Linked DNA regions of Homo sapiens: regions 2, 3, 4, 5, 6 and 7 are each linked to region 1. The links are contacts of gene promoters, found by promoter capture Hi-C in blood cells and fetal thymus (Javierre and others, 2016). All regions are on one chromosome and are shown on one strand. The core of a region is centred on a gene start or on the middle of the fragment in contact, and the rest is flanking DNA. Distances in the headings are between cores, read along the strand shown.

Region 1 (2,700 bases), core at 4-2,503:
GTTAGTTATAGTTTAAAACAAAACCTTTGTGTGCCCTAGTGAACAATGTAAACACAAATAGCAGAATCCCAAATCTTCTAATCATTGTGTTGCCCTAAATACAAAAGGGTCTCATAGGCCGAATACAGTTCATAAACCAAAATCTCACGTGAGTTACCTTCTCTCTTTCTCTCTATCCACCTTCTAAGTCCATAAAAAATTGAAAACATTCTGAAAAGAACTCTCTCCTGCCTGAGAAAAAATACACCACACATTTAGAACCAAAAGCTTGCCATAAGGGGGCAAAGAGTGAAAAACTCTCATTTCTAATACTTTATTAGAATTCCAAGAACTACGCAAATTCAAACATGTCAAAGCGCCTGTTTCTCCATCGATAAAATGCAGAAAGAAAAACGTGTGTGTGTAGTAGAACCTCACCTAATGGGATAATTAAAATCAGAAAAAGCTAAATACTACTACTGATTAAAAGTTGCCTTGTCATTTGTCTTGCCAGTTGATCTCTTTAAAGTACCTAATCAATCGCTGCAGTCCGCAAACGGCAGTTCCTTCCCATTGGTTACCACAGAAAGTTCTTTCCTGACCTCAAATTGCCTAGTACGTTTCAGCCTCGATGCCTGGTTGGAACCCACAGTTTACCAATATCTGGGGATTGAAAGGACAGGCCAGTGCTGGGGAAATGCTCAAACAGCCTACTCAACACTACCCTCTGGATTCAACCGTCCTCCCAATCCCACAACCAACACAGAGCATTTCAAAAGTGCTTCGCATTCCCAAGAATCCCTCAGATGCAAACGGAGAAACTGAAAAGGGGGTGAACAGGTCGCACCCTGAGGATAATGCCGAGAACCCTAGCATCCCCAAAAGCCCACAAGAGGAAGTCGCGGGAGCTCACAAATTGAGGGGGATTCTCGCATTGTGGAGTTCTAGGGGTAAGTAGCAGGGAACTTTTTTAAAAAGAAAGCAAAAAGATAAAAAGAACAGAACCTCAGATTTTTGTTATTTAAAGAGGCAGCCCCACTTCCGGATCCTACCTCTCCGTGACTCTACTTCCGGTATCTTCCAAAACGCCCGCTTTCACAGATCAAGGTTTTGCAACCAATGAGAGTATCAGCTACTTCCGCCGGCCTGCGGGACGTGATCTAAATCCCGCCTTTTCCGGTGGAGAGGAGCCTATCCTAGTGTCTTAACCGCCCGTCTTGGTAGGCGGTGCCGTGACAAGCCCAACCGGACGGCTGGAGAGGGCGAGAAGGGCAGACGGGACATGCAGCCTCTTCCGCCTGAGCCCCGGAAGGGTGATGTGGCTGCGGCATCGCCGGCCTCGCTATGGTAAGAAGTGGGGCTCCCAGGTCGCGGTTGATCTTCGAGAAGGGGTTGTGGATCTAGACTAGGGCTGGAGTTTGTGCGGCAGCCCGGGGTGTGTGGGCCCGGAGCTGAGAGGCCTTGGAGCCATGTGGTCCCTCCACGGCCAACCAGAGAGAATCAGGACGGACTGTCCGAGGAAGACTGCTGGGTCGGCAGCCCGCCCCTCATGCAAAGTCCGCTTTCCTACTTTGTTTAGGAAAAAAAAATGCGTTGGTGTGTTTTAACACGTTGGCTACGTAGATTATGTGTGGTCATTGACCCTTTGAAGCATTAGCGCTTCTCGAGTTTCCGCTTGTTTTGTTGCAACTCCTTATCTCGCCCTAGGGGCTTTACTCTGGTGTTATTGTTTGATTTTTGGGGGGAGTTTCTTTTGGCACCAAACTCCATACCTTCATTTTCATCTGTTTAGTCAGTAGCCTCTCAAGACCCTTCCACCTTCTTCTCTTAACTTTGAAAATGCTGCTTTACAAGCTATAGGTTTTAATAGTTAAGAGTTCTCTGCAAAGGTGGATTGCCCTTCTAGGAGCTTAATGTACTTATTGGAGTGGTGTCTAGCCTCAGGCCTTCCTCCTCTTTTACCTCCAGGTCCATGTGCCAAATGTTATGTATATTTCTGGACAAAGGATGCATGCCTGCAAATAGACCCAAAAACAACTATGACTCCAAAAAGCTTGAGTCTCCATGGTGAAAAATTATGAGCCTATGTTCACAGAAGTTGCTGCAGAATCCCATATAGCAATAATTCATTTTCTTCTCTGGACGAATTTACCACCTGGTGGGAAGATGGCAGTTGAGACTAGGAAGACTGCCACTCTTAATTCTTATACATCTTTCTAGAAACTGAAGTTGAATTCTTCTACTCGTAGTGCAAGTCAAAGATAACTCTTTTTATTATCTCACTGTCAGACTAGCTAAAAATAAGATGCATATACTGTGCTTAAGATCAACAGTATATAAACTATCTTGTCATGCTTGTTTTTCCAAAAGTAGCAAATGCTTTCATTTATTATCACGTCCTATGTACCAGGCTCTTTTCAAAAAATCAGTTTATAAGCATGGAAATATCAAGTTCACAGCAACTTCTGAATAGATGTTTACAAGTGAAAGAAGTGAAACATGAAGAGACTGACTTGCCTCGGATCACACCTAGTAGATTGTAAAGCCAGTACTCAAACTTATTTTAATGTCCAGGTCCCCGAAATCTTCATGCTGTTATCGATAGAAACACAACATAACTAAGGATGAAATAAGACTTAGTGATTTGTTTCTTATAAATATAAGTACATAAATTAGACATAGGTGGAAAACGGAAACAACTGGCAGGTGGTTTTTTATTCC
Region 2 (3,013 bases), core at 228-2,727, 4.3 Mb before region 1:
CCAAATGATATAATGGTTAAAAGTACAGGCAGGTCTTACTTGAATTCATTCCTGTTCCTTATTAGCTGTGTGACCTAGATAAGTCAGTTAACCTCATTGATACTCAGTTTCCTTCTCTGTAGAGATAGTAATACTTCACCAAGCTGTTGTAAGGATTAAAACATGATGATAGTTTCGTGTTTAGCACAGAGTCTGGCACATGGTATACATTCAATAAATGGTAGTGCTGCTTCTGCCATTCAGTTGGCAGCAGTGATCACAAATCATGGAATGGATACATGGTTATATCACAAATATGGAGTGGCTTTAGAGAGAAGGCTTATTGCCTTGCCCATGTTTTTTTGTCAGTATTTTTATAAGATTGGTTAATCTGTGAACGTTTGTATTTTTCTTCCTGAATTTATCTAATTCAGAACATTTTTGATAGTCTGATTTCTAATACACACACACACACACACACACACACACACACACGTATTTTTAAATCCAGTGACCATAGGAAGGATTAGCCAGAGTAGGCTGGGGATAGACAAGCAAAGGATGGGAAAGAATCTTTTGGCTATGGCATTTCTGTAGTAATTCATCACAATTTGTTTTGATTAAAGAAGAATTAATGAGTATTAGTATTTTTCTGGGTAATCTCTACAAAGAAACCTTTCCATAAATAAGTTCTGTTTCACAAAATTTAACATTTAACATTTGTGACTAGATCCTGATGATATATTTTTTTTAACCCTTAGGGTACGGCTTGTATGTATTTCAAACGTTTTTATCTTAATAACTCAGTAATGGAATATCACCCCAGGATAATAATGTGAGTATGTCTGTCTAATATATTGTTTTCATTTAAGAAGACCTTTATAATCTTTTGAGTATTTTTTGGGAGGAGAGAATTGTGAGAGAGAGAGAGAGAGAACTGACTTCCTAATACAGGGTAATTTAGACTTGAATTCTATTTTTTTTTTTTTATTCAGAACTTGAGATCTCTGTTTACCTGTACTTCAGTAATTCTGATGGTATGTGAACTTCAGCTTGTCCAGATTCAAATTTTGTTTTTCTCAAATTAGCTACTTCTCTAACATCTCTTCCTATTAGACACCTTTGTTCTTCCAGTTGTTCAGACTGAGAATCATTTATAGTGGCCCCTCCCACATCCAGTCAGTTTACGGATCCTATAGCTTCATACTCATTTCAGTTGAACAAAGGTCTGTTGTTGCTGCTCTCTGCTGAGCGCTGTGTCTATCATTAAAAATGAAATTAGTATGAAACTCATCAAAGAGTTTGCTCTCAATGACATTGTACCTGTTTTCTCTTTTTTGATTCCCATTTCCACCAGTCAAGATTAGGCCCTTGATCTCACTGCCAACTGTTTTTTACAGTAGCTTTCTTACTGTTTTCTCATACTGAACAGCATGAAGTGGCCAGGTGAATTTCACAAGTTTGTCCCTTAAATAATAGTCCCTTATTCAGATGCCCTTAGAGACTTCTGCCGATGGCCTTCCACAATGTTCCTTTAACCTACTTTTCTTCCCATACTTACATGGTACATATGTGGGTACTGCTTTATTTTTAACTCTTCCATCTACATTATACAAAGTACTCTTATTCCTCAGTTAATTTGTTTTTCCAGATATTTAGGTTGTACTGCATAACACTGTCATTGAGTCAGTGATGTTTGAATGCCATGGCAATATTGGTTTGACCTAATTTTATAGTTGTCTTACGTCTCCTAATGAAGTGTGAACAGGAAGTGTCTTTTAAAAAACAATTCTTGCAATGTCTAGCAGTCGCTTTTGAATATTAGGCAATTATAGAATATACTTTTAGAAATAAATTATTTAGATACTTCTCAAAGTATATGCATGTTCTTCCACCCCACCCACCCCCTGCCTCCTGCCTCCTTATTTTTTCCTCTAGGCTCACTTGTGCATTTTTGGCCTGCAAAGTAGATGAATTCAATGTATCTAGTCCTCAGTTTGTTGGAAACCTCCGGGAGAGTCCTCTTGGACAGGAGAAGGCACTTGAACAGATACTGGAATATGAACTACTTCTTATACAGCAACTTAATTTCCACCTTATTGTCCACAATCCTTACAGACCATTTGAGGGCTTCCTCATCGACTTAAAGGTAAACTTGATGTAAAATAAACTAATACTACATTCTCCTTTCCTATTCTTTAACAAAAGAATCCAAAATTTTAAAACTCATAATCATCCTCGTTGTTATAGCATGGATACAACCTGTGGGTCTGGCCTGGTCATCTAGGGCAGTTGTTTTCAAACTTCAGTGGGCATCATCAGTCATCTGGAGAAATTGTTAACTGAGATTGTTGGGTGGGACTTACAGAGTTTCTGATTTAAGTGATCTGCAATCTCATTTAAGTGATCTTCATTACATCCAGGGATGTAATGAAGACCATTGAGAGTTTAGAACGGTGCTTACTATAAAGGCTTAAGATAACTCTTCTAACTTTGAATTATATTGTCATGGATCTGGGCCTGATTTAAACCATAAAAAATTCTTAAACTAGAAGATTGCTAAGTGACTTATATTTTTAGAGGTTTGTGAACTTAAGTCACTATGTAGGCATCAATAATATACGTAAACAAACATTGACAAAAGCAACTTTTTTAAGTTGTTTTGTTTGGCTCTAAAAGAGAAGTTGGATAGTCTGAGTCGAATCAAATCAGGAATTGGTTCATTCATGTTAGATCAGTGGCTCAATTTGGGTACCTTCTATGTGCCAAACTTTGTGCTTGAGGATGTAACCAGAAATAGGACAGGAACAGTCTCAACTTTTGTGAACCTTACAATCTAAAGGTTTTAGACAATCATATATCCAGTGTGCTCAATGATACAGAGGGGAAAATATATTTTAGAGGGAGATAACAGATTAAGGGGTAAGGAAAACATTCTGAGAACGTATCATTTAAAATAAAATTCAGAGTAGGAATAGGAGAGAGAAGAACATTCCAATCAGAGACTTCCCTGGTAAAAAGCTCAAATTCAAGA
Region 3 (2,722 bases), core at 83-2,582, 4.0 Mb before region 1:
TTTGTAAGATTAGACTCATTTTATTTTTAAAAAGAGCTTCAGTATATGAATATGTGATGTTTAATATAAGCTTAAAAGTAAGAAGTCCCTTCCCTTATTTTCTTAGAGTACAACTGTAGGCAATTAGAATACATTGAAGTGGGTTAAAAGGCAGAACCTAACTTGAACTTCCTTTTGACCACCTGTACGGTATATTCTCAACACTGGGGCCATTGGTTTTGTGGCTTTGTTTCCTGCTCACTGGACTGCCTGGAGGATGGGCTTAGGGTGTGACTTTGCTCATTTCCTTTTTGTCACCTCACAAAGCCCTGCTTTGTTTGCTTTATCTAAGACCTCTGTGCTACCTAGCTAAGTTTGGCTTCCTGTCCAATGCTGTTCACTCTGTCTCCATGGATCCAGCTCAATTGGAAGAAAAAGCAGATGAAGGCCTGAATGTCTACTGAGTTTTCAGTGACTTCCTCAAACTTCTCACTTACCTTTCAGTGCTGGCATCGTCCAGGTCATAGGAGAAAGTAGTAGGGGTGACTCAAATATTTAGTATTTGCACAGTAAAAATGTCCAGCTATGCCAGGTGGAGTGGCTCACACCTATAATCCCAGTGCTTTGGGAGGCTGAGCAGGAGGATTGCATGAGGCCAAGAGTATGAGACCAGCCTGGGCAACATAGTGAGACTCTGTGTCTACAAAAAGTTTTTTTTTTAAAAAATTAGCTGGGCATGGTGGCATGTGTCTGTAGTTCTAGCTACTTGGGAGGCTGAGGTGGGAGGATCATTTGAGCCCAGGAGTTTGTGGCTGCAGTGAACTATGGTTGCACCATTGCACCCCAGCCTGGGCGATAGAGGGAGACCCTGCTTGTAAAAAGCAAGCCAAGCTCTTTACTGGCTGAAATTGCATGGAGTAAGGGAGGGAGTCGAAATTCTGGGGCAGAGAACTACCTTTTGTTGTTCATATGTGTTTGTCTTTAATAATGTTCCCCAGTATCTTATGTTAATGAGGAACATTAATGCTTTGACATCGTTTCACGGTGCCACTTCAGGGAATCACTCTTGCTTATTCTAAGGAGGATTTGGAGCTGTACCGAGCTAAAAGTCTGAATTTGGAGATGATAGTGGTGACCTTATAGGCAATATCAGGTACAGATGGAGCTTTAATAGTGAAAAAGTAGACTGCTCAGAGTAAGTATGGAGGATCATACTTCTGCATACACTGAATGTAGTTGTTTCTTTTCCACACAAGCACTCTCTACAAGAGAGGTTTCTTTAGAAAGAATTGGACCTGATGGAGGGTCATTCTATCAGAATGAATTTTTTAGGTTTCTTCCTTACAGTTAACATCTCTGAAAGGTACGGATACAAGTTATCTACAGGGTAACACCTGTAGATATGATGCAACAGGCTTATGCCATTGGAGAGTGAATAGTCAACCTTCTGAAAACAGTGTACACCACCGGAAGGGCAAGAAAAAAAACTGTGAGTAACCAGTGAGTCTGGGTGCCTTGATTGGGGTCACTTTCAAATAGTGATTTTTTTATTTTTGCTTTGTCACCACATGGTTTGCATGTGTTGAAGGACAGTGTTATCCAGTAGGATTTGTCTTAGGTTTTTTTTTTTTTTTTTTTTTTTTTTGAGACCGAGTCTCGCACTGTCACCCAGGCTGGAGTGCAGTGGCACGACCTCGGCTCACTGCAACCTCCACCTCCCAGGTTCAAGCAATTCTCCTGCCTCAACCTCCTGAGTAGCTGGGACTACAGGTGCCCGCCACCACGCCTGGCTAATTTTTTGTGTTTTGAGTAGAGACAGGGTTTCACCATGTTAGCCAGGATGGTCTTGATCTCTTGACCTCGTGATCCGCCTGCCTCGGCCTCCCAAAGTGTTGGGATTACAGGCATGAGCCACTGCACCTGACCTTGTCTTAGGTTTTCTAGTGGAGGCTTGAGCCAAAGAAATTTTCATGCTGTACAGAAAGTCAACCTATTTCTTAACCATTTTAAAAAATGACACAAGGGTTAGATTTTTGAGGGGAGGGATCAGTTAAGCACATTGTATTTGCCTTTTCATCAATTTTAATGTTTTTCACTAGCGTAAAATACACAACTGCAGTTACTCATATTCATCCTGGAACTGCAGAGGACACAGAGATTTTGTGACCAAGGCAGTCATGGACAGGTTGCTATCTTACACTATACAAATGCTGTCTTACTTCCATTGCCAGTTATGAACTGCATATAAAGTTTGCACATAATTACTAAGGCTGAATAAAGGATCACTACTATTATTACTGTTGCAGATGTTGGTGCCATCTTCTAGAATATCGGAAGTTTTATGTGAAGTTAGGTATAATCTTTTGGTAGGGTACTGCTTTCATATCATTATTGGACTGAAAATGACTATCCTCTAGATTCATTAATGTGCTTAGTCTAATTTCCTAATTCGCCACCATCAGAAATGTAAATCAAAGCTCCAGAAGTATGGCTTTTCAAAATATGAATTTATTTTGTAGAAGAAAACTTATATTGTATGTTTGTTGGCAAAGTAGAGAGCATGTTCTTGTCTTCCATGAAGGCTAATGGCATTTTCAACTGTTAGATCAAGCTTTTCTGGTAAGAAATTTTACTGCTGCTAGTGTAATAATTCACCTATTTTATATAATTTTAAAATATTTTAAGGTTATTATAGATGTTTATCCTTCCAAAGCATAACCAGATTGCAACATGGATATTGTAT
Region 4 (2,731 bases), core at 76-2,575, 3.8 Mb after region 1:
CGTCTCCTCCAGCGCGAACGACATGGTGGCTCCGGCTTCTCGCCGCGGGGAAGGGCCGCCGGCCCGGCCCGCCCGAGGACTCCCCGCTGGCTGCGCCGCGCCCCCCGCTCACCCTCGCCGGGCGCCTTCAGCCATCTTAGTGCGCCGGCCGGCTCTCCCGGCTCGTTCGCCTGTCCCTCCGCGCCCCGACCGCCGAGCTCCTTTGTGGCGCGGATCGAGAGAAGGACAATAAGCGTCCCGGGAGCAGGTAGTTCACATGGTCACCTGCGGCCGGATCTGTTTACAAGCTCCGCGCTGCCGCAGCGCCTCGCGGCCGCCCGCCGCCCCCCGCGCGAGGCCGTGGAGCTGCGTCTGCGGCGCTCCGGTGGTGAGGCGCGGGTCCCGCGGGGTCAGGCCGGCGCTGTATGCGTCCCGGTCGCTCGCCCAGGTCAAGATCCCCGCCCCCGCCCCTGGTGCTGCTGCAGAAAGCCCGGAGCCGGCCTGACTGATGAACCCGTCTCCTAAACTCTGCGCCTCAGCATCGCCACAATGTTGCCATTCGACTGCTGACGTCGGCGGCTCCACGAGGGACGTAAACATGGGCACGTGCCGCACGCTGGTGACGCGGCGGCGGCGGCGCGCGCACCCCGCCCGCGCGCGCCGGCGCCTCCTCTCGGCGTCCCCTGAGCCAGCCCGCGAGCGGCCGCGCTCCCGACTCTCCTTCCTTCCGCGCAGCCTCCAGTTCCCCGGGGCTGGAGCCGGCTGTCGGCTGGTTGCCGGCTCCGAGGGCGATGAGAGTGGCAGGTGTGCCCTGCTGCACAGGTGGCCTCCGAACCCGGGAAAAGAGGAACTAAGGCGGAGGAACTGAGACGTTTCGAATTCCAGGTATTGAGACCCTCGAATGTACATTTGCCTCCATTCTCCTGGAGGGAGCCCGGACGGAGAGTCGCTCCTGCGTTCAGAAGTAGCGTGTTGCCGCGGGGAACGGTGTGCTGAACTATGTGGGGCTCGCCCCCAGCCTGTTAGGTTCTCCCCTAATGCCCTTGAGACCAAAACAAAAAACAAAAACAATTCCAGAAGCTTTTCTGGAAAGACAGAGTTTAATATATGAAAGGAAGGTGTCTGAGGAAAGCCCAGTAACAGTCCAAAACAAAATGAAAAATGAAAATGCCATGTCCTAACAGCATGAATGTTTACATTTCAGTTCATTGGTGTTTTATTGCTTCAGGTTTCATCATTATGTACTGTTCTGTGAACCTCGTTTTGAGGTCACTGGGCTTTAGCCCTTTTGAAGTTGTATTCAATTATGGGAGTTCCCAGAATGCATATACAAAAACAGTCATATCAATCTCTGCTATTCTTACTAAACTATGATGAAACACATTCTTAAAATTAGTAGACTTTATAATAATTATTGGCATTCTTTTTCCGATTAGTATTCAAGTCACAGATGTTGTGCACCATAGTAAAGCACAATGGAAATTAGTTCTTTTACATTTATTCACATTTCTAAAGTATATACAAAACCGTTTGGATTAGCCTTGTATTGTTAGGTTCAGTAAAAACAGCTGTTTATTCAGATGACAGAACAGTACTGAACTAGCTAAGCTTCAAACTTAGTTCAGTATTGTCCATCTTAAACTCTAAGCTTCAACACTTGGTTCAGTATTGTCCTGATATTTGAATAAACAGCCAAAAAAAATTTTTTTTTTGAGACAGAGTCTCACTCTGTGGCCCAGGCTGGAGCACAGTGGCACGATGTCAGCTTACTGCAGCCTCTGCCTCCCGGGTTCAAGCGATTCTCCTGCCTCAGCCTCCCAAGTAGCTGGGATTACAGGCACACACCACCAAGCCCGACTAATTTTTGTATTTTTATTAGAGACGGGGTTTCTTCATGTTGGCCAAGCTGGTCTCGAACTTCTGGCCTCAGGTGATCCGACCGCCTTGGCCTCTCAAAGTGCTGGGATTACAGTCGTGAGCCACTGAGCCCAGCTGGTTTTTAACATTTTGTACAGTTCATTATTTGAAACCACAAATTTTCAAAGTTTGTAACTGAGTTTGTGTCAAATCTCAAATGCAAGTCAGAGACACGTTCTGAAAGGCAAAAAAGAGAGAAAACCCATTTCAAATCTGAATTACGGGGCTGGGCATGGTGGCTGACGCCTGTAATCCCAGCACTTTGGGAGGCTGAGGTGGGCAGATCACTTGAGGTCAGGAGTTCAAGACCAGCCTGGACAACATGGTGAAACCCCGTCTCTATAAAAAATACAAAATTAGTCGGGTGTGGTGGCACGTGCCTGTAATCCCAGCTACTTGGGAGGCTGAGGCAGGAGAATTGCTTGAACCCGGGAGGCGAAGGTTGCAGTGATCTGAGATCATGCCACCGCACTCCAGCCTGGGGGACAGAGACTCCACCTCAAAAAAGAAAAAAGAAAAAAGGTTTGAATTACCAGCTAAGCAAACAATAGCACATTGTAGAAAACTTTCTCTTCTTTTTTGCTAAAAAGCAACTGCAAAAAGCTAGTTTTTCTGATAAAGCATTACTGACATGATCCCATTATGTATAATTGTGAATACAGAGAATGAGTATTAAAAGAATTTGTTTACAAGTTCTCTTCAGAGTAGAGGACAAGAAAAAGAAAAAAATTATTATTTAAAAAAATAGTCCGGGTGCGGTGGCTCACGCCTGTAATCCCAGCACTTTGGGAGGCTAAGGTGGGCAGATCGCAAAGTCAGAAGTTCGAGACTAGCC
Region 5 (2,829 bases), core at 284-2,783, 3.6 Mb after region 1:
GGAGGACATGAGTGAAATGACCAGCGAACTCATTTTTTATAGGACTCGGTGAAGCCGGATTCTGCATTTCCCTACTTGTAGACTCATTTTGTGGAATAGAGTTGATCGCTGTCTCCTCCGCAAAGCATTTTAACTCGAATAAGCAAATGCCGCCTCTGTTTGAACGTTTTGGTATTTACAAGAGAGAAATCATTTTACCTAAGAGAACTAATTGAATTGGCAGCATCCTTGAAATACCTCCGGACAAGGATCTGGGGGTGGGGGTGGAAAAGCAACTGCGAAATAGCAGACGGAGAAATTCCTTTGGAAGTTATTCCGTAGCATAAGAGCTGAAACTTCAGAGCAAGTTTTCATTGGGCAAAATGGGGTAAGGATTTTTGTGCTTAACACAGCTTCGAATCTGTTTATGTATGTGTATTATTGAGCGGTGGTGGTGATTGTGTTTTGTGTTTTCAAACAAACTTGCCACCTTGCTAAGCTGGTCATACTTTAAAGAAATAGGCATGCTAACCTTTTAGGTTATTTTTGCATTTTTGTAGAGCGGTACCAGAGGTCATAATTTAAAAACACATATATCGTTTGTAACTTGAATATGGATTTGTGAGTAATGTTTACAAAGACAACGCATTCTACACTTTACTGGTCAGACTGCTGCATCAGTTTGTAATCAAAATCACATTATTTTAGCTTTTGCTGACGGTTATCTTTCAAAGAGAAGTACTGCATTCTCTCAGTACTTTTAGATAATCAGTTGCACAAAGGAACGATTTTAATGAGTGGTTAGACAACAGTCCTTGAAAGTGATCCAGAGTAAATTGTTGCCCTCACCGTGCCCTCTGTCTTGTCCTTGAATATTCAAAGCTAAAATGTATAGAATTGATTTACTGGGGCGTTAAAACGAAAATCTGAAATTCAGTCTTACTGATGCGGTCACCACGGTACGGGTGCATTTCGTAGGAAAAAGCTTTTTGTTTAAGGAACTTGTTCACTCCTTTTGTTTTTCGCTTTTAAGCTCAGCCCTTCAGTTTGAGTTAACAGTATCAGATCTACACCTTCCTTCGGACCCAGAGCCAACTGAGAGTGCATTTTCCAGTCTTTTATTAACTCTTCACACTGTGGGTTGATGAAATGCTAGTGACACTTCCTAATTTAAGCTGGAAACCCATAATATATTAATGGAGCAATCTGATTTCATTGACAGGTTGTCACTGCTTTTTGGCAGAAGAACTTCCAGAATTTTCTCTTTTTGTGTGTGTGTGGTTGAACAAACACATCTGAAGTGTAGTTGAGGGGCATGTTTTAAAGAATGGACTCTGCAATTCATCGTGATGGTTTAGGTGTGTACACACGCTTGAAACTTTCTGAGGAAAGTTCTTGAATAGTACCTTCCTTTTGGAGTTAGAATTTGAAGTTTAACATGCATAACTTTGAAAATTTAGAGCATGTTGTAGGAGACGTTCCTCAGAAATTAATGACAAAGTTATAATGGTTTTAAAAACTTGAATGACAAGTGATGAGAATATATATAACTTGCATGATTTGGGGGTACCGCTAAGAGTAATTAAAATACCTCATTCTATTTCTAGCGCTGCTATTAGTAGCTTAGTGATCTGAGGCAAATTACTTGACCTCTGTGGACTCTATTTCTTACCTGTAAAATGAACGATTTAGAGATGACTTAAAGATTTCTCCAAACTGTAAAAAACGAATTGCTTTCTTTTTATTCTCCTCCTCATTTTAATGATCACTAGTTGGTTTCTGCAAGTCGATCTTTCTGATGGAGACCTTTTTCACTCTAAGCAGTTTAAGCGCTTAACGCTGAAAAATAATGGCATTTGAAAAATGTTTTGGATGAATTGCACCAATTTTAAATGAGAAAAATACTGAAAAATACTACTGTTCAAAACCTTAGAAATATGGCTTCCCTTGAGCATCTGCAGCTCTGTTTAAAACATGTTGGAGGAAAAAAAATCAAGCAGCAGTTTTTCATGTTGATGGCTGCATTTTGTCTAGACTGTGGAGTAGTAGCATCATGGAAGAAAATCAGTTTTCCAGAACCTTTAAGCTGCATGAATGCCTGTCATTTTACCAAGGGAAGCTTAGGATGAATTTTTTTTTCCCTGCCTGAGGTTTCTTTGTACAAATAGCACAGGAGGACCCCAGCCCCACAGCCCCATGCAGATGGCAGCCTGGCGGGGGGTCGCACCAGTCCTGTCCTCACGTTGGCAGATAGAGATATCTACTCTGAAGCCTCTGTAGGGGCCTGGGCACCTTTGGGAGCCTGAGCTGGAACTGAAGCTGGAGCTGCAGCCTGGGCCTTGGTTTGATCCTTGTCCTTGGCCTTTGGCCAGCACACCCTGAGCCCCTTGGCAATGCGGGCACGAGCATGCTTCCCAAGCTTGGGGTGGACAGTGTAGGCAAGTTGAGCTTGCGGCTGACACCCTTTGGGATCTTGGGCTTAACCTCCTTGGGCTTTAGGAGGGCCTTGATAGCCTTGGCATGTGCACTCATGGCCTTGGCACTGTTAGCCTGCATCTTCTTTAGGCCCTTCTTGTTGTGTTTCTTGGCAAACTGCATGTTCCTCAGGAACTTGGGGTCCACCCCCTTAAGAGATTCGTATCTTTGTGCTTCGGGTTTCTTGATACCATTTCTGTGCCATTTTTGGGACTGGTTGTGTGTGGTGTGGTTCTTGGACTTGGCCATGTCTGCACCTTAAGGCGCGGCTCCTGAAGCGCCTAGAATCTGAAGAGACAGGATGAATTTAATACTAAGGGGGCTGTTGTTTAAAGTGGGAAAGTTAGCACCACACATAACATGCATTTAGACACT
Region 6 (2,700 bases), core at 67-2,566, 3.5 Mb after region 1:
ATTAAATTACACCCAAGTGTTCAAAAAAATAATCTAGTCACATGGCTCCAAATGGGCATTTCTTAAACAACTCATAAACGGCCTATTTCACATGGAACCTGTTACAGGACATTTCCAGAACAGACATAATTAGGGCTATTCACACCAACAAAGTAACGTCACTATTACTGGCTATTAATCAGTATAAATTAATAGCCTTATGGCTGTTAATCAGTACGTGTTAGAAGCCTGGTGGTACTGAACCATACAATATGAAGATATTTACAAAAGTTACTATGTTACCTGTAATATAAAAACACAGATTTAGTAATCAGTTACAATCTCTTTCTTCACAAAATCATACACTGCACATGTGTTATTTAGCTTGTGTTTTACAGTTTCCCTTTGTTTCTTCTCTGTTCACCCTAATGAAAAATATCTGCTACTTTAAACAAAGAGTTGAAAGAGATAAGACAAGTAATTTAGAGAATCCATAAGTTTTGAGACATATAAGCCTTTCGTGTTCTCACCTTGAGAGACGAAGAGCTTTTCTACAAAGGCTGAACAAGAAAAGAAACGCACACAACAGTCTTAACCTGTGCATTTTCCTATAAAGTGAAAAGCTGAAGCAATTTCATGCCATTTAATTAAGGCTTAAAAGATAAATGCCTTTTAAATTTTTTAATTAATCCAGCTACGTACCTTAGTTCTTCACCACCCTTTGAAACACCATGCAAGGGTCCCAAGACTATCTTCCTCTTTTGGTCCTGGAGTGGTGGACGAGGCAGTACGCGAGGAATAGAAAACGAGTAAGCAAAGTAAGCGGTCCTAAGATTCTTCAAAATGTACAGCAGCCCAGATGCCGCCCATAAATTTGGAATAACCAAGAGATACTGCTGGAACCTCCCACGCAAAACAAAACGCTACCGTTTCGGAAAAGTTTCCCGTGCCCCGCCGCCGACCTGGGCCTACACTGCTGCGTTCCTCTCCGAAACCCCCTAAACTCACAGGTGTCCTCCGGGAAGGGCTAAGCAGGGCCTACCCGCACTGCCCGTTCAGAAGTTCTAAGGCCCGAGCTGGGCGTACTTGGTCGTAGCTTTCTCCCGAACCAAAGGAGGTAGTGGTGGCCCGTGGGACAGCTAGGCCCAGCTCCGGCTCCGGCTGAGATCTAACCCCCCTCACGGCTGCCAGGGGAGGAGCAACACAAGAAAAGGTAGGGGCTGCAAGGATATAGAAGGTTGGGGGCGGTGGCAAAAAGCGGAAGAGCAAAAAGTCGCCGAAAAAGCGGCGTAGAAAACCCTGTCAAAGACACCCGGAAGACCGACGTGACCCCGGATGAGAATAGGCAGCGGGGAGCGAAAGGTCACACTTCCGGTGGCCGCCTCCCTCCCACCCCCCAACCCCCCCCACCCCCCAACCCCCCCCACCCCCCCCACCCCGCCTATGAGCGCTTTGCTTGAATGCGCAGGCGCAAGACAGCCGGATTTGAAAGGAGTTTCTTAACTGCTGCCAGCACAAGTTGGGAAAGGGTTAGGACTGCACTAAGAGGGGTGGAGCAGGCAGTCGCCGGAGGGCCACTTCTGGGCCCCTTGCCTGAACTCACGTGCAGCCGTTCTAGCTGTAACAGACGTTTTCTGTGGGTCCTTCGTGTGTTGGCCGAGTGACTTGTCCCCAGAGAAGCCTTTCTTTAACCAGTGTTCCCCTAATCTTCTCCCCCGGAGCAACATTAAACTTTATCTGTTCTTTTGCCCCTCCAGTAACCTGAGAGCTTCTTTGGAAGGAAAATGCTTTCTTTGGCCGGACGCGGTGGCTCACCCCTGTAATCCTAGCACTTTGGGAGGCTGAGGCGGGCGGATCACGAGGTCAGGAGTTCGAGACCAGCCTGGCCAACATGGTGAAACCCCATCTTTACTAAAAATACAAAAATTAGCCGAGCTTGGTGGCGTGCGCCTGTAACCCCGCTACTCAAGAGGCTGAGGCTGGCGAATCGCTTGAACCCGGGAGGCGGAGGTTGCAGTGAGCCGAGATCGTGCCACAGCACTCCAGCCTGGGCGACAGAGCAAGACTTTGTCTCAAAAAAAAAAAAAAAAAAAAATGCTTTCTTTCTCTCTAAAGCCTGGACTTAGCGCCTTGCCCATAGTAATAGCTGGTATTCACTAATTCAACAAATATTTATTGATATCGCCTCTTGAGTGAGCTTTAATAATTTGTAGAAATGTCTAAATTGTTTAATAATGCAAATCTGTTAGCTGTATTCCTTTATTGTCCACTTAATGTCTATAAAATCTGACCCCTCAGGTTCTGAAATTGGTAATTTGTGTGTCATCTTTTTTTCTGATCGATCTGGTGAGGGGCTTCTCGGTTTACGGATCTCAAATCTCAAAGCCCGTTTTTGCTTTCTTGGATTTTCTCTACTGGTTTTCTGTTTTCTATTTTATTGATTTCTGCTCTTATGTTTATTGTTTCCTTTACTCTGCTATTTTTTAATTTTTAAATTTCTTGTTTTGTTTCTCTAGTTTCTTAACTCAGAAACTGATGACCATTAATTTTAGATGTCTCTTGTTTGTACAGGCATTTGGTGTGATAAGTGTCCCTCTATACTGTTTTAGCTACATTCCACATATTTTGATATATTGTATTTTCATTTTCCTTCATTTCAAAATACTTTGTAATTTCCCTATTGCTTTCTTTTTTTGACCATGGGTTTTTTGTAAGTGTTGG
Region 7 (2,757 bases), core at 136-2,635, 4.1 Mb after region 1:
TAGTGGTGGAGGGGAAGGATTGCTACTCCGCTGGATAAAGTTCATTTGTGTATATATAAATAAGAATTATTTTCCATTGTTATTTATCTATAACTTATAAAGTTGTAAACAACTTCCACGGAATCAGACTCAACCTGGAAGGGTATGGTCTCTAGGCAATGCAAAAATTTTCCCCTACACCTGTTAACAACTATAATATCTCCAGACAGAGTAGACAGAAAGTCTGGATGGCAACGGGAATCTACTGGTCATACGGCTAACTTCCTAATTCAATAAGCACGTGACTAAAGGATTTTTTCCTTCCACTCAGATATTTCAGGCTAACTAGATACTGTGTGCTTCTTAGTGTCACTGCTTAGTGGGGGAGCCAGCTCTGAGTGGGGTCATATCCGGACAAGCGAATGAGCTATTTATTCAATGACCACGCAACACTCCAAATCCTCCCAGGGCAACTTGAAAGTAACCGCACCTTCCAAAGGGCACCGTGCAATCAGACTGTGTGTTTGGCCTCCTGTTTGCTAGTGGGGAGGAAGCGGCTTCATGGGTGTACACTACGCATAAATGAATGTGAAAGGCTATTTAGACCTCTGCCTTTTCACCGTCCTCCCACCTGCCACAGGCTGGGCTCTTGTGCTAGAAATGACTTGCTAGCTAGACATCATGGTTCAGGATCTGAGTCAGAGGTTTAACCATTTATAAGCTTTTTTCTTATGAAAAATTGGCACTAATTATAATGTCTAACTGTCAGAGTTGTTGCAGGCTTTACAGGAGACGCGGGCTGTGAAGATGCTTTGTAAATTGTGAAGCGTTATTAAAGAACACATCTTTTTTTTTTAGGAAACCACAGTGCAAATTTAATTGCCGGGGAAGATAACGGGCCTTGGTGCCCTCCAAGCGTCAGCTGAGTTTCCAAGAAGCCGGGCAGCGGGCGCCCGCGGGTTCGTCTCTGGCTCCTCCTCCGCCACAGCAGCCGGGGGCCCGGGTCGGAGGCGGCGGGGGCCGAGCGCCCGGCCTCGCAAGCCCACGGCCCGCTGGGGGTGCCGTCCCGCGCCGGGGCGGAGCAGGCCCCGGCAGCCCAGTTCCTCATTCTATCAGCGGTACAAGGGGCTGGTGGCGCCACAGGCGCTGGGACCGCGGGCGGACAAGGATGGGTCCGCGCGGCGCGGCGAGCTTGCCCCGAGGCCCCGGACCTCGGCGGCTGCTCCTCCCCGTCGTCCTCCCGCTGCTGCTGCTGCTGTTGTTGGCGCCGCCGGGCTCGGGCGCCGGGGCCAGCCGGCCGCCCCACCTGGTCTTCTTGCTGGCAGACGACCTAGGCTGGAACGACGTCGGCTTCCACGGCTCCCGCATCCGCACGCCGCACCTGGACGCGCTGGCGGCCGGCGGGGTGCTCCTGGACAACTACTACACGCAGCCGCTGTGCACGCCGTCGCGGAGCCAGCTGCTCACTGGCCGCTACCAGGTACGCGGCGCCCCCGCCGCCCGCGCCGCCCCCGCCCCGCCTTTCGCCGGCGCCCTGCCGCTCCTACCCGGCCCTTGAGGCCGCGGGCGCTGGCAGGCGGGGCTCGGACCGCCGACCCAGTTATGGGTCCCGGCGGCTTCTCGCCCCAACCTCGCTCTTCCAGGCCGGCAGCCCGCCGCGGCCTCTGCGCATGCCCGGCTCTGGCGCCCCGCGGACCCGCGCCCCGGCCGCCGGGTTGGGCGGGTGGCTTTGTCTTTCGTTTTCTGAAGCTCCGGGCGAAGGGGTTTATGGGAATGCCGGGTGCTGGGCGCCGCGGCCGGCAGGCGGAGCGGTCCTGAGGTGGGAGGCTGGGGAGGGCGTGGGCTGGGAGCAAAGACGAGGGGAGAGGTAAAATGAAGGGGTGCTCGCCGTGGGTGCGACCCTGGCCCGTGGGAACCCAGCGGTGATAGGTTAGGAGTGTCCCACCAAAGATTATTTTTTTCCAGGTTCTCAACACCCCTGGAATGAAACCTGATGCTAGGTTGATTTTTCTTAGGCTGCTGACATTCCTTTCACATGTAACCTTGTATTGAACTCTTCTGAGCATCTTCATTATCGCTTTAAAAGCTTCCCTTTAGGAACGGCTCCACAGTTAACGAAGGAAATATAAATGTAGAGCGTGCATAGATGTTAGATGGCTAAGAATATCAAGAACATTTGCATAGCACTTTGTTGTTTTTAAAGTGAATTATTGAAACAGTGCATGAGGTAGTTGTTTTTACCCCGTTTTACAGACGAGGCAGGAAGCCTGTAAAGGCTCGTTGGCATAAGAATCGCACAGCTAGAAAGTGGTCAAGGCAGTGTCCGTTGTGCTTTTCCTGCATCCACTGGTCGTCCCGGGCTTATGAAATTGGCCTTTTTTCCCCTCAATCTGAATACGATTGTCATATTTCTAAGACCCTGAAGTTATTATGACCATATTAAATACAGTAAATGGGAACTGTTGGATACCACCTGCATGCCTTCACAGAGTACATATGCTGTTTACTCAACAAAAATATTTTGAGCTTACTGTGCTACTGACAGGGGATATATATTTGAATGTTGCCCTCCCAAGTGTGTGTTCGCATAACCTGTCAGATCAACCCTAGCCTCACGTGGTCCTAAGATCAAGAGAAGGGAGGGCTTACTTGTGATAAAGATATGCGCAGTGGTCTGAAGGCTTTTATAAAGAGGAAAGATTGGGTGTTGCTAAGGGTGAGAAATAGCTGTAGCCAAGGTTAGAAATGGGAGTAAAGGATGCTTCCCTTCACCATCCA

The links. Contacts are between HindIII fragments. The CHiCAGO score rates a contact against its expected background, and 5 or more counts as called.
Region 2: a contact is called between a fragment that was not itself captured here and the fragment with the promoter of TMEM167A in region 1, in 3 of 17 cell types (total B cells, total CD4 T cells and naive CD8 T cells). The highest score is 14.6, in total B cells.
Region 3: a fragment that was not itself captured here is called in contact with the fragment with the promoter of TMEM167A in region 1 in 1 of 17 cell types (total B cells); the score reaches 5.2 in total B cells.
Region 4: a fragment that was not itself captured here is called in contact with the fragment with the promoter of TMEM167A in region 1 in 3 of 17 cell types (total B cells, total CD4 T cells and non-activated CD4 T cells); the score reaches 6.3 in total B cells.
Region 5: a fragment that was not itself captured here is called in contact with the fragment with the promoter of TMEM167A in region 1 in 1 of 17 cell types (total B cells); the score reaches 6.7 in total B cells.
Region 6: the fragment with the promoter of TENT2 here is called in contact with the fragment with the promoter of TMEM167A in region 1 in 1 of 17 cell types (total B cells); the score reaches 5.1 in total B cells.
Region 7: a fragment that was not itself captured here is called in contact with the fragment with the promoter of TMEM167A in region 1 in 2 of 17 cell types (total CD8 T cells and non-activated CD4 T cells); the score reaches 7.8 in total CD8 T cells.

What each region holds. Positions count from the first base shown.
Region 1 is chr5:83,075,947-83,078,646 of GRCh38, reverse strand. TMEM167A (transmembrane protein 167A) reads left to right here and starts at 1,253. Exons shown (of 4, transcript NM_174909.5): 1 at 1,253-1,326. The coding sequence starts at 1,324. XRCC4 (X-ray repair cross complementing 4) reads right to left here and starts at 1,100. Exons shown (of 8, transcript NM_003401.5): 1 at 1,032-1,100. RefSeq lists enhancers at 206-1,171, 1,246-1,515, 1,172-2,137 and a silencer at 1,096-1,185. The HindIII fragment of the contact is 1,765 bases long and covers 270-2,034 here.
Region 2 is chr5:87,407,091-87,410,103 of GRCh38, reverse strand. It overlaps CCNH (cyclin H), which reads left to right. Exons shown (of 9, transcript NM_001239.4): 3 at 741-814; 4 at 1,918-2,128. Among named protein-coding and RNA genes, the nearest start is that of CCNH, 4.3 kb to the left of the region's middle. The HindIII fragment of the contact is 6,127 bases long and covers 1-3,013 here.
Region 3 is chr5:87,072,926-87,075,647 of GRCh38, reverse strand. The region is part of intron 1 of MIR4280HG (MIR4280 host gene); the gene reads left to right. LOC105379065 (a long non-coding RNA gene) reads left to right here and starts at 379. Exons shown (of 3, transcript XR_948540.3): 1 at 379-571; 2 at 1,327-1,468. RefSeq lists an enhancer at 430-479. The HindIII fragment of the contact is 2,520 bases long and covers 73-2,592 here.
Region 4 is chr5:79,233,944-79,236,674 of GRCh38, reverse strand. JMY (junction mediating and regulatory protein, p53 cofactor) reads right to left here and starts at 544. Exons shown (of 11, transcript NM_152405.5): 1 at 1-544. The coding sequence starts at 24. LOC124901011 (a long non-coding RNA gene) reads left to right here and starts at 652. Exons shown (of 2, transcript XR_007058836.1): 1 at 652-864. RefSeq lists an enhancer at 1-90 and silencers at 33-472, 503-552, 593-642. The HindIII fragment of the contact is 528 bases long and covers 1,062-1,589 here.
Region 5 is chr5:79,510,308-79,513,136 of GRCh38, reverse strand. HOMER1 (homer scaffold protein 1) reads left to right here. Exons shown (of 9, transcript NM_004272.5): 1 at 1-367. The coding sequence starts at 363. It also overlaps the pseudogene RPL29P15. Among named protein-coding and RNA genes, the nearest start is that of HOMER1, 2.4 kb to the left of the region's middle. The HindIII fragment of the contact is 1,134 bases long and covers 967-2,100 here.
Region 6 is chr5:79,611,057-79,613,756 of GRCh38, reverse strand. It overlaps TENT2 (terminal nucleotidyltransferase 2), which reads right to left and starts at 1,316. Exons shown (of 15, transcript NM_001114394.3): 1 at 682-1,316. LOC124901014 (a long non-coding RNA gene) reads left to right here and starts at 1,420. Exons shown (of 2, transcript XR_007058840.1): 1 at 1,420-1,615; 2 at 1,737-2,286. RefSeq lists an enhancer at 512-1,711. The HindIII fragment of the contact is 9,139 bases long and covers 1-2,700 here.
Region 7 is chr5:78,983,639-78,986,395 of GRCh38, reverse strand. ARSB (arylsulfatase B) reads left to right here and starts at 1,086. Exons shown (of 8, transcript NM_000046.5): 1 at 1,086-1,459. The coding sequence starts at 1,148. RefSeq lists a silencer at 904-1,763. The HindIII fragment of the contact is 1,365 bases long and covers 703-2,067 here.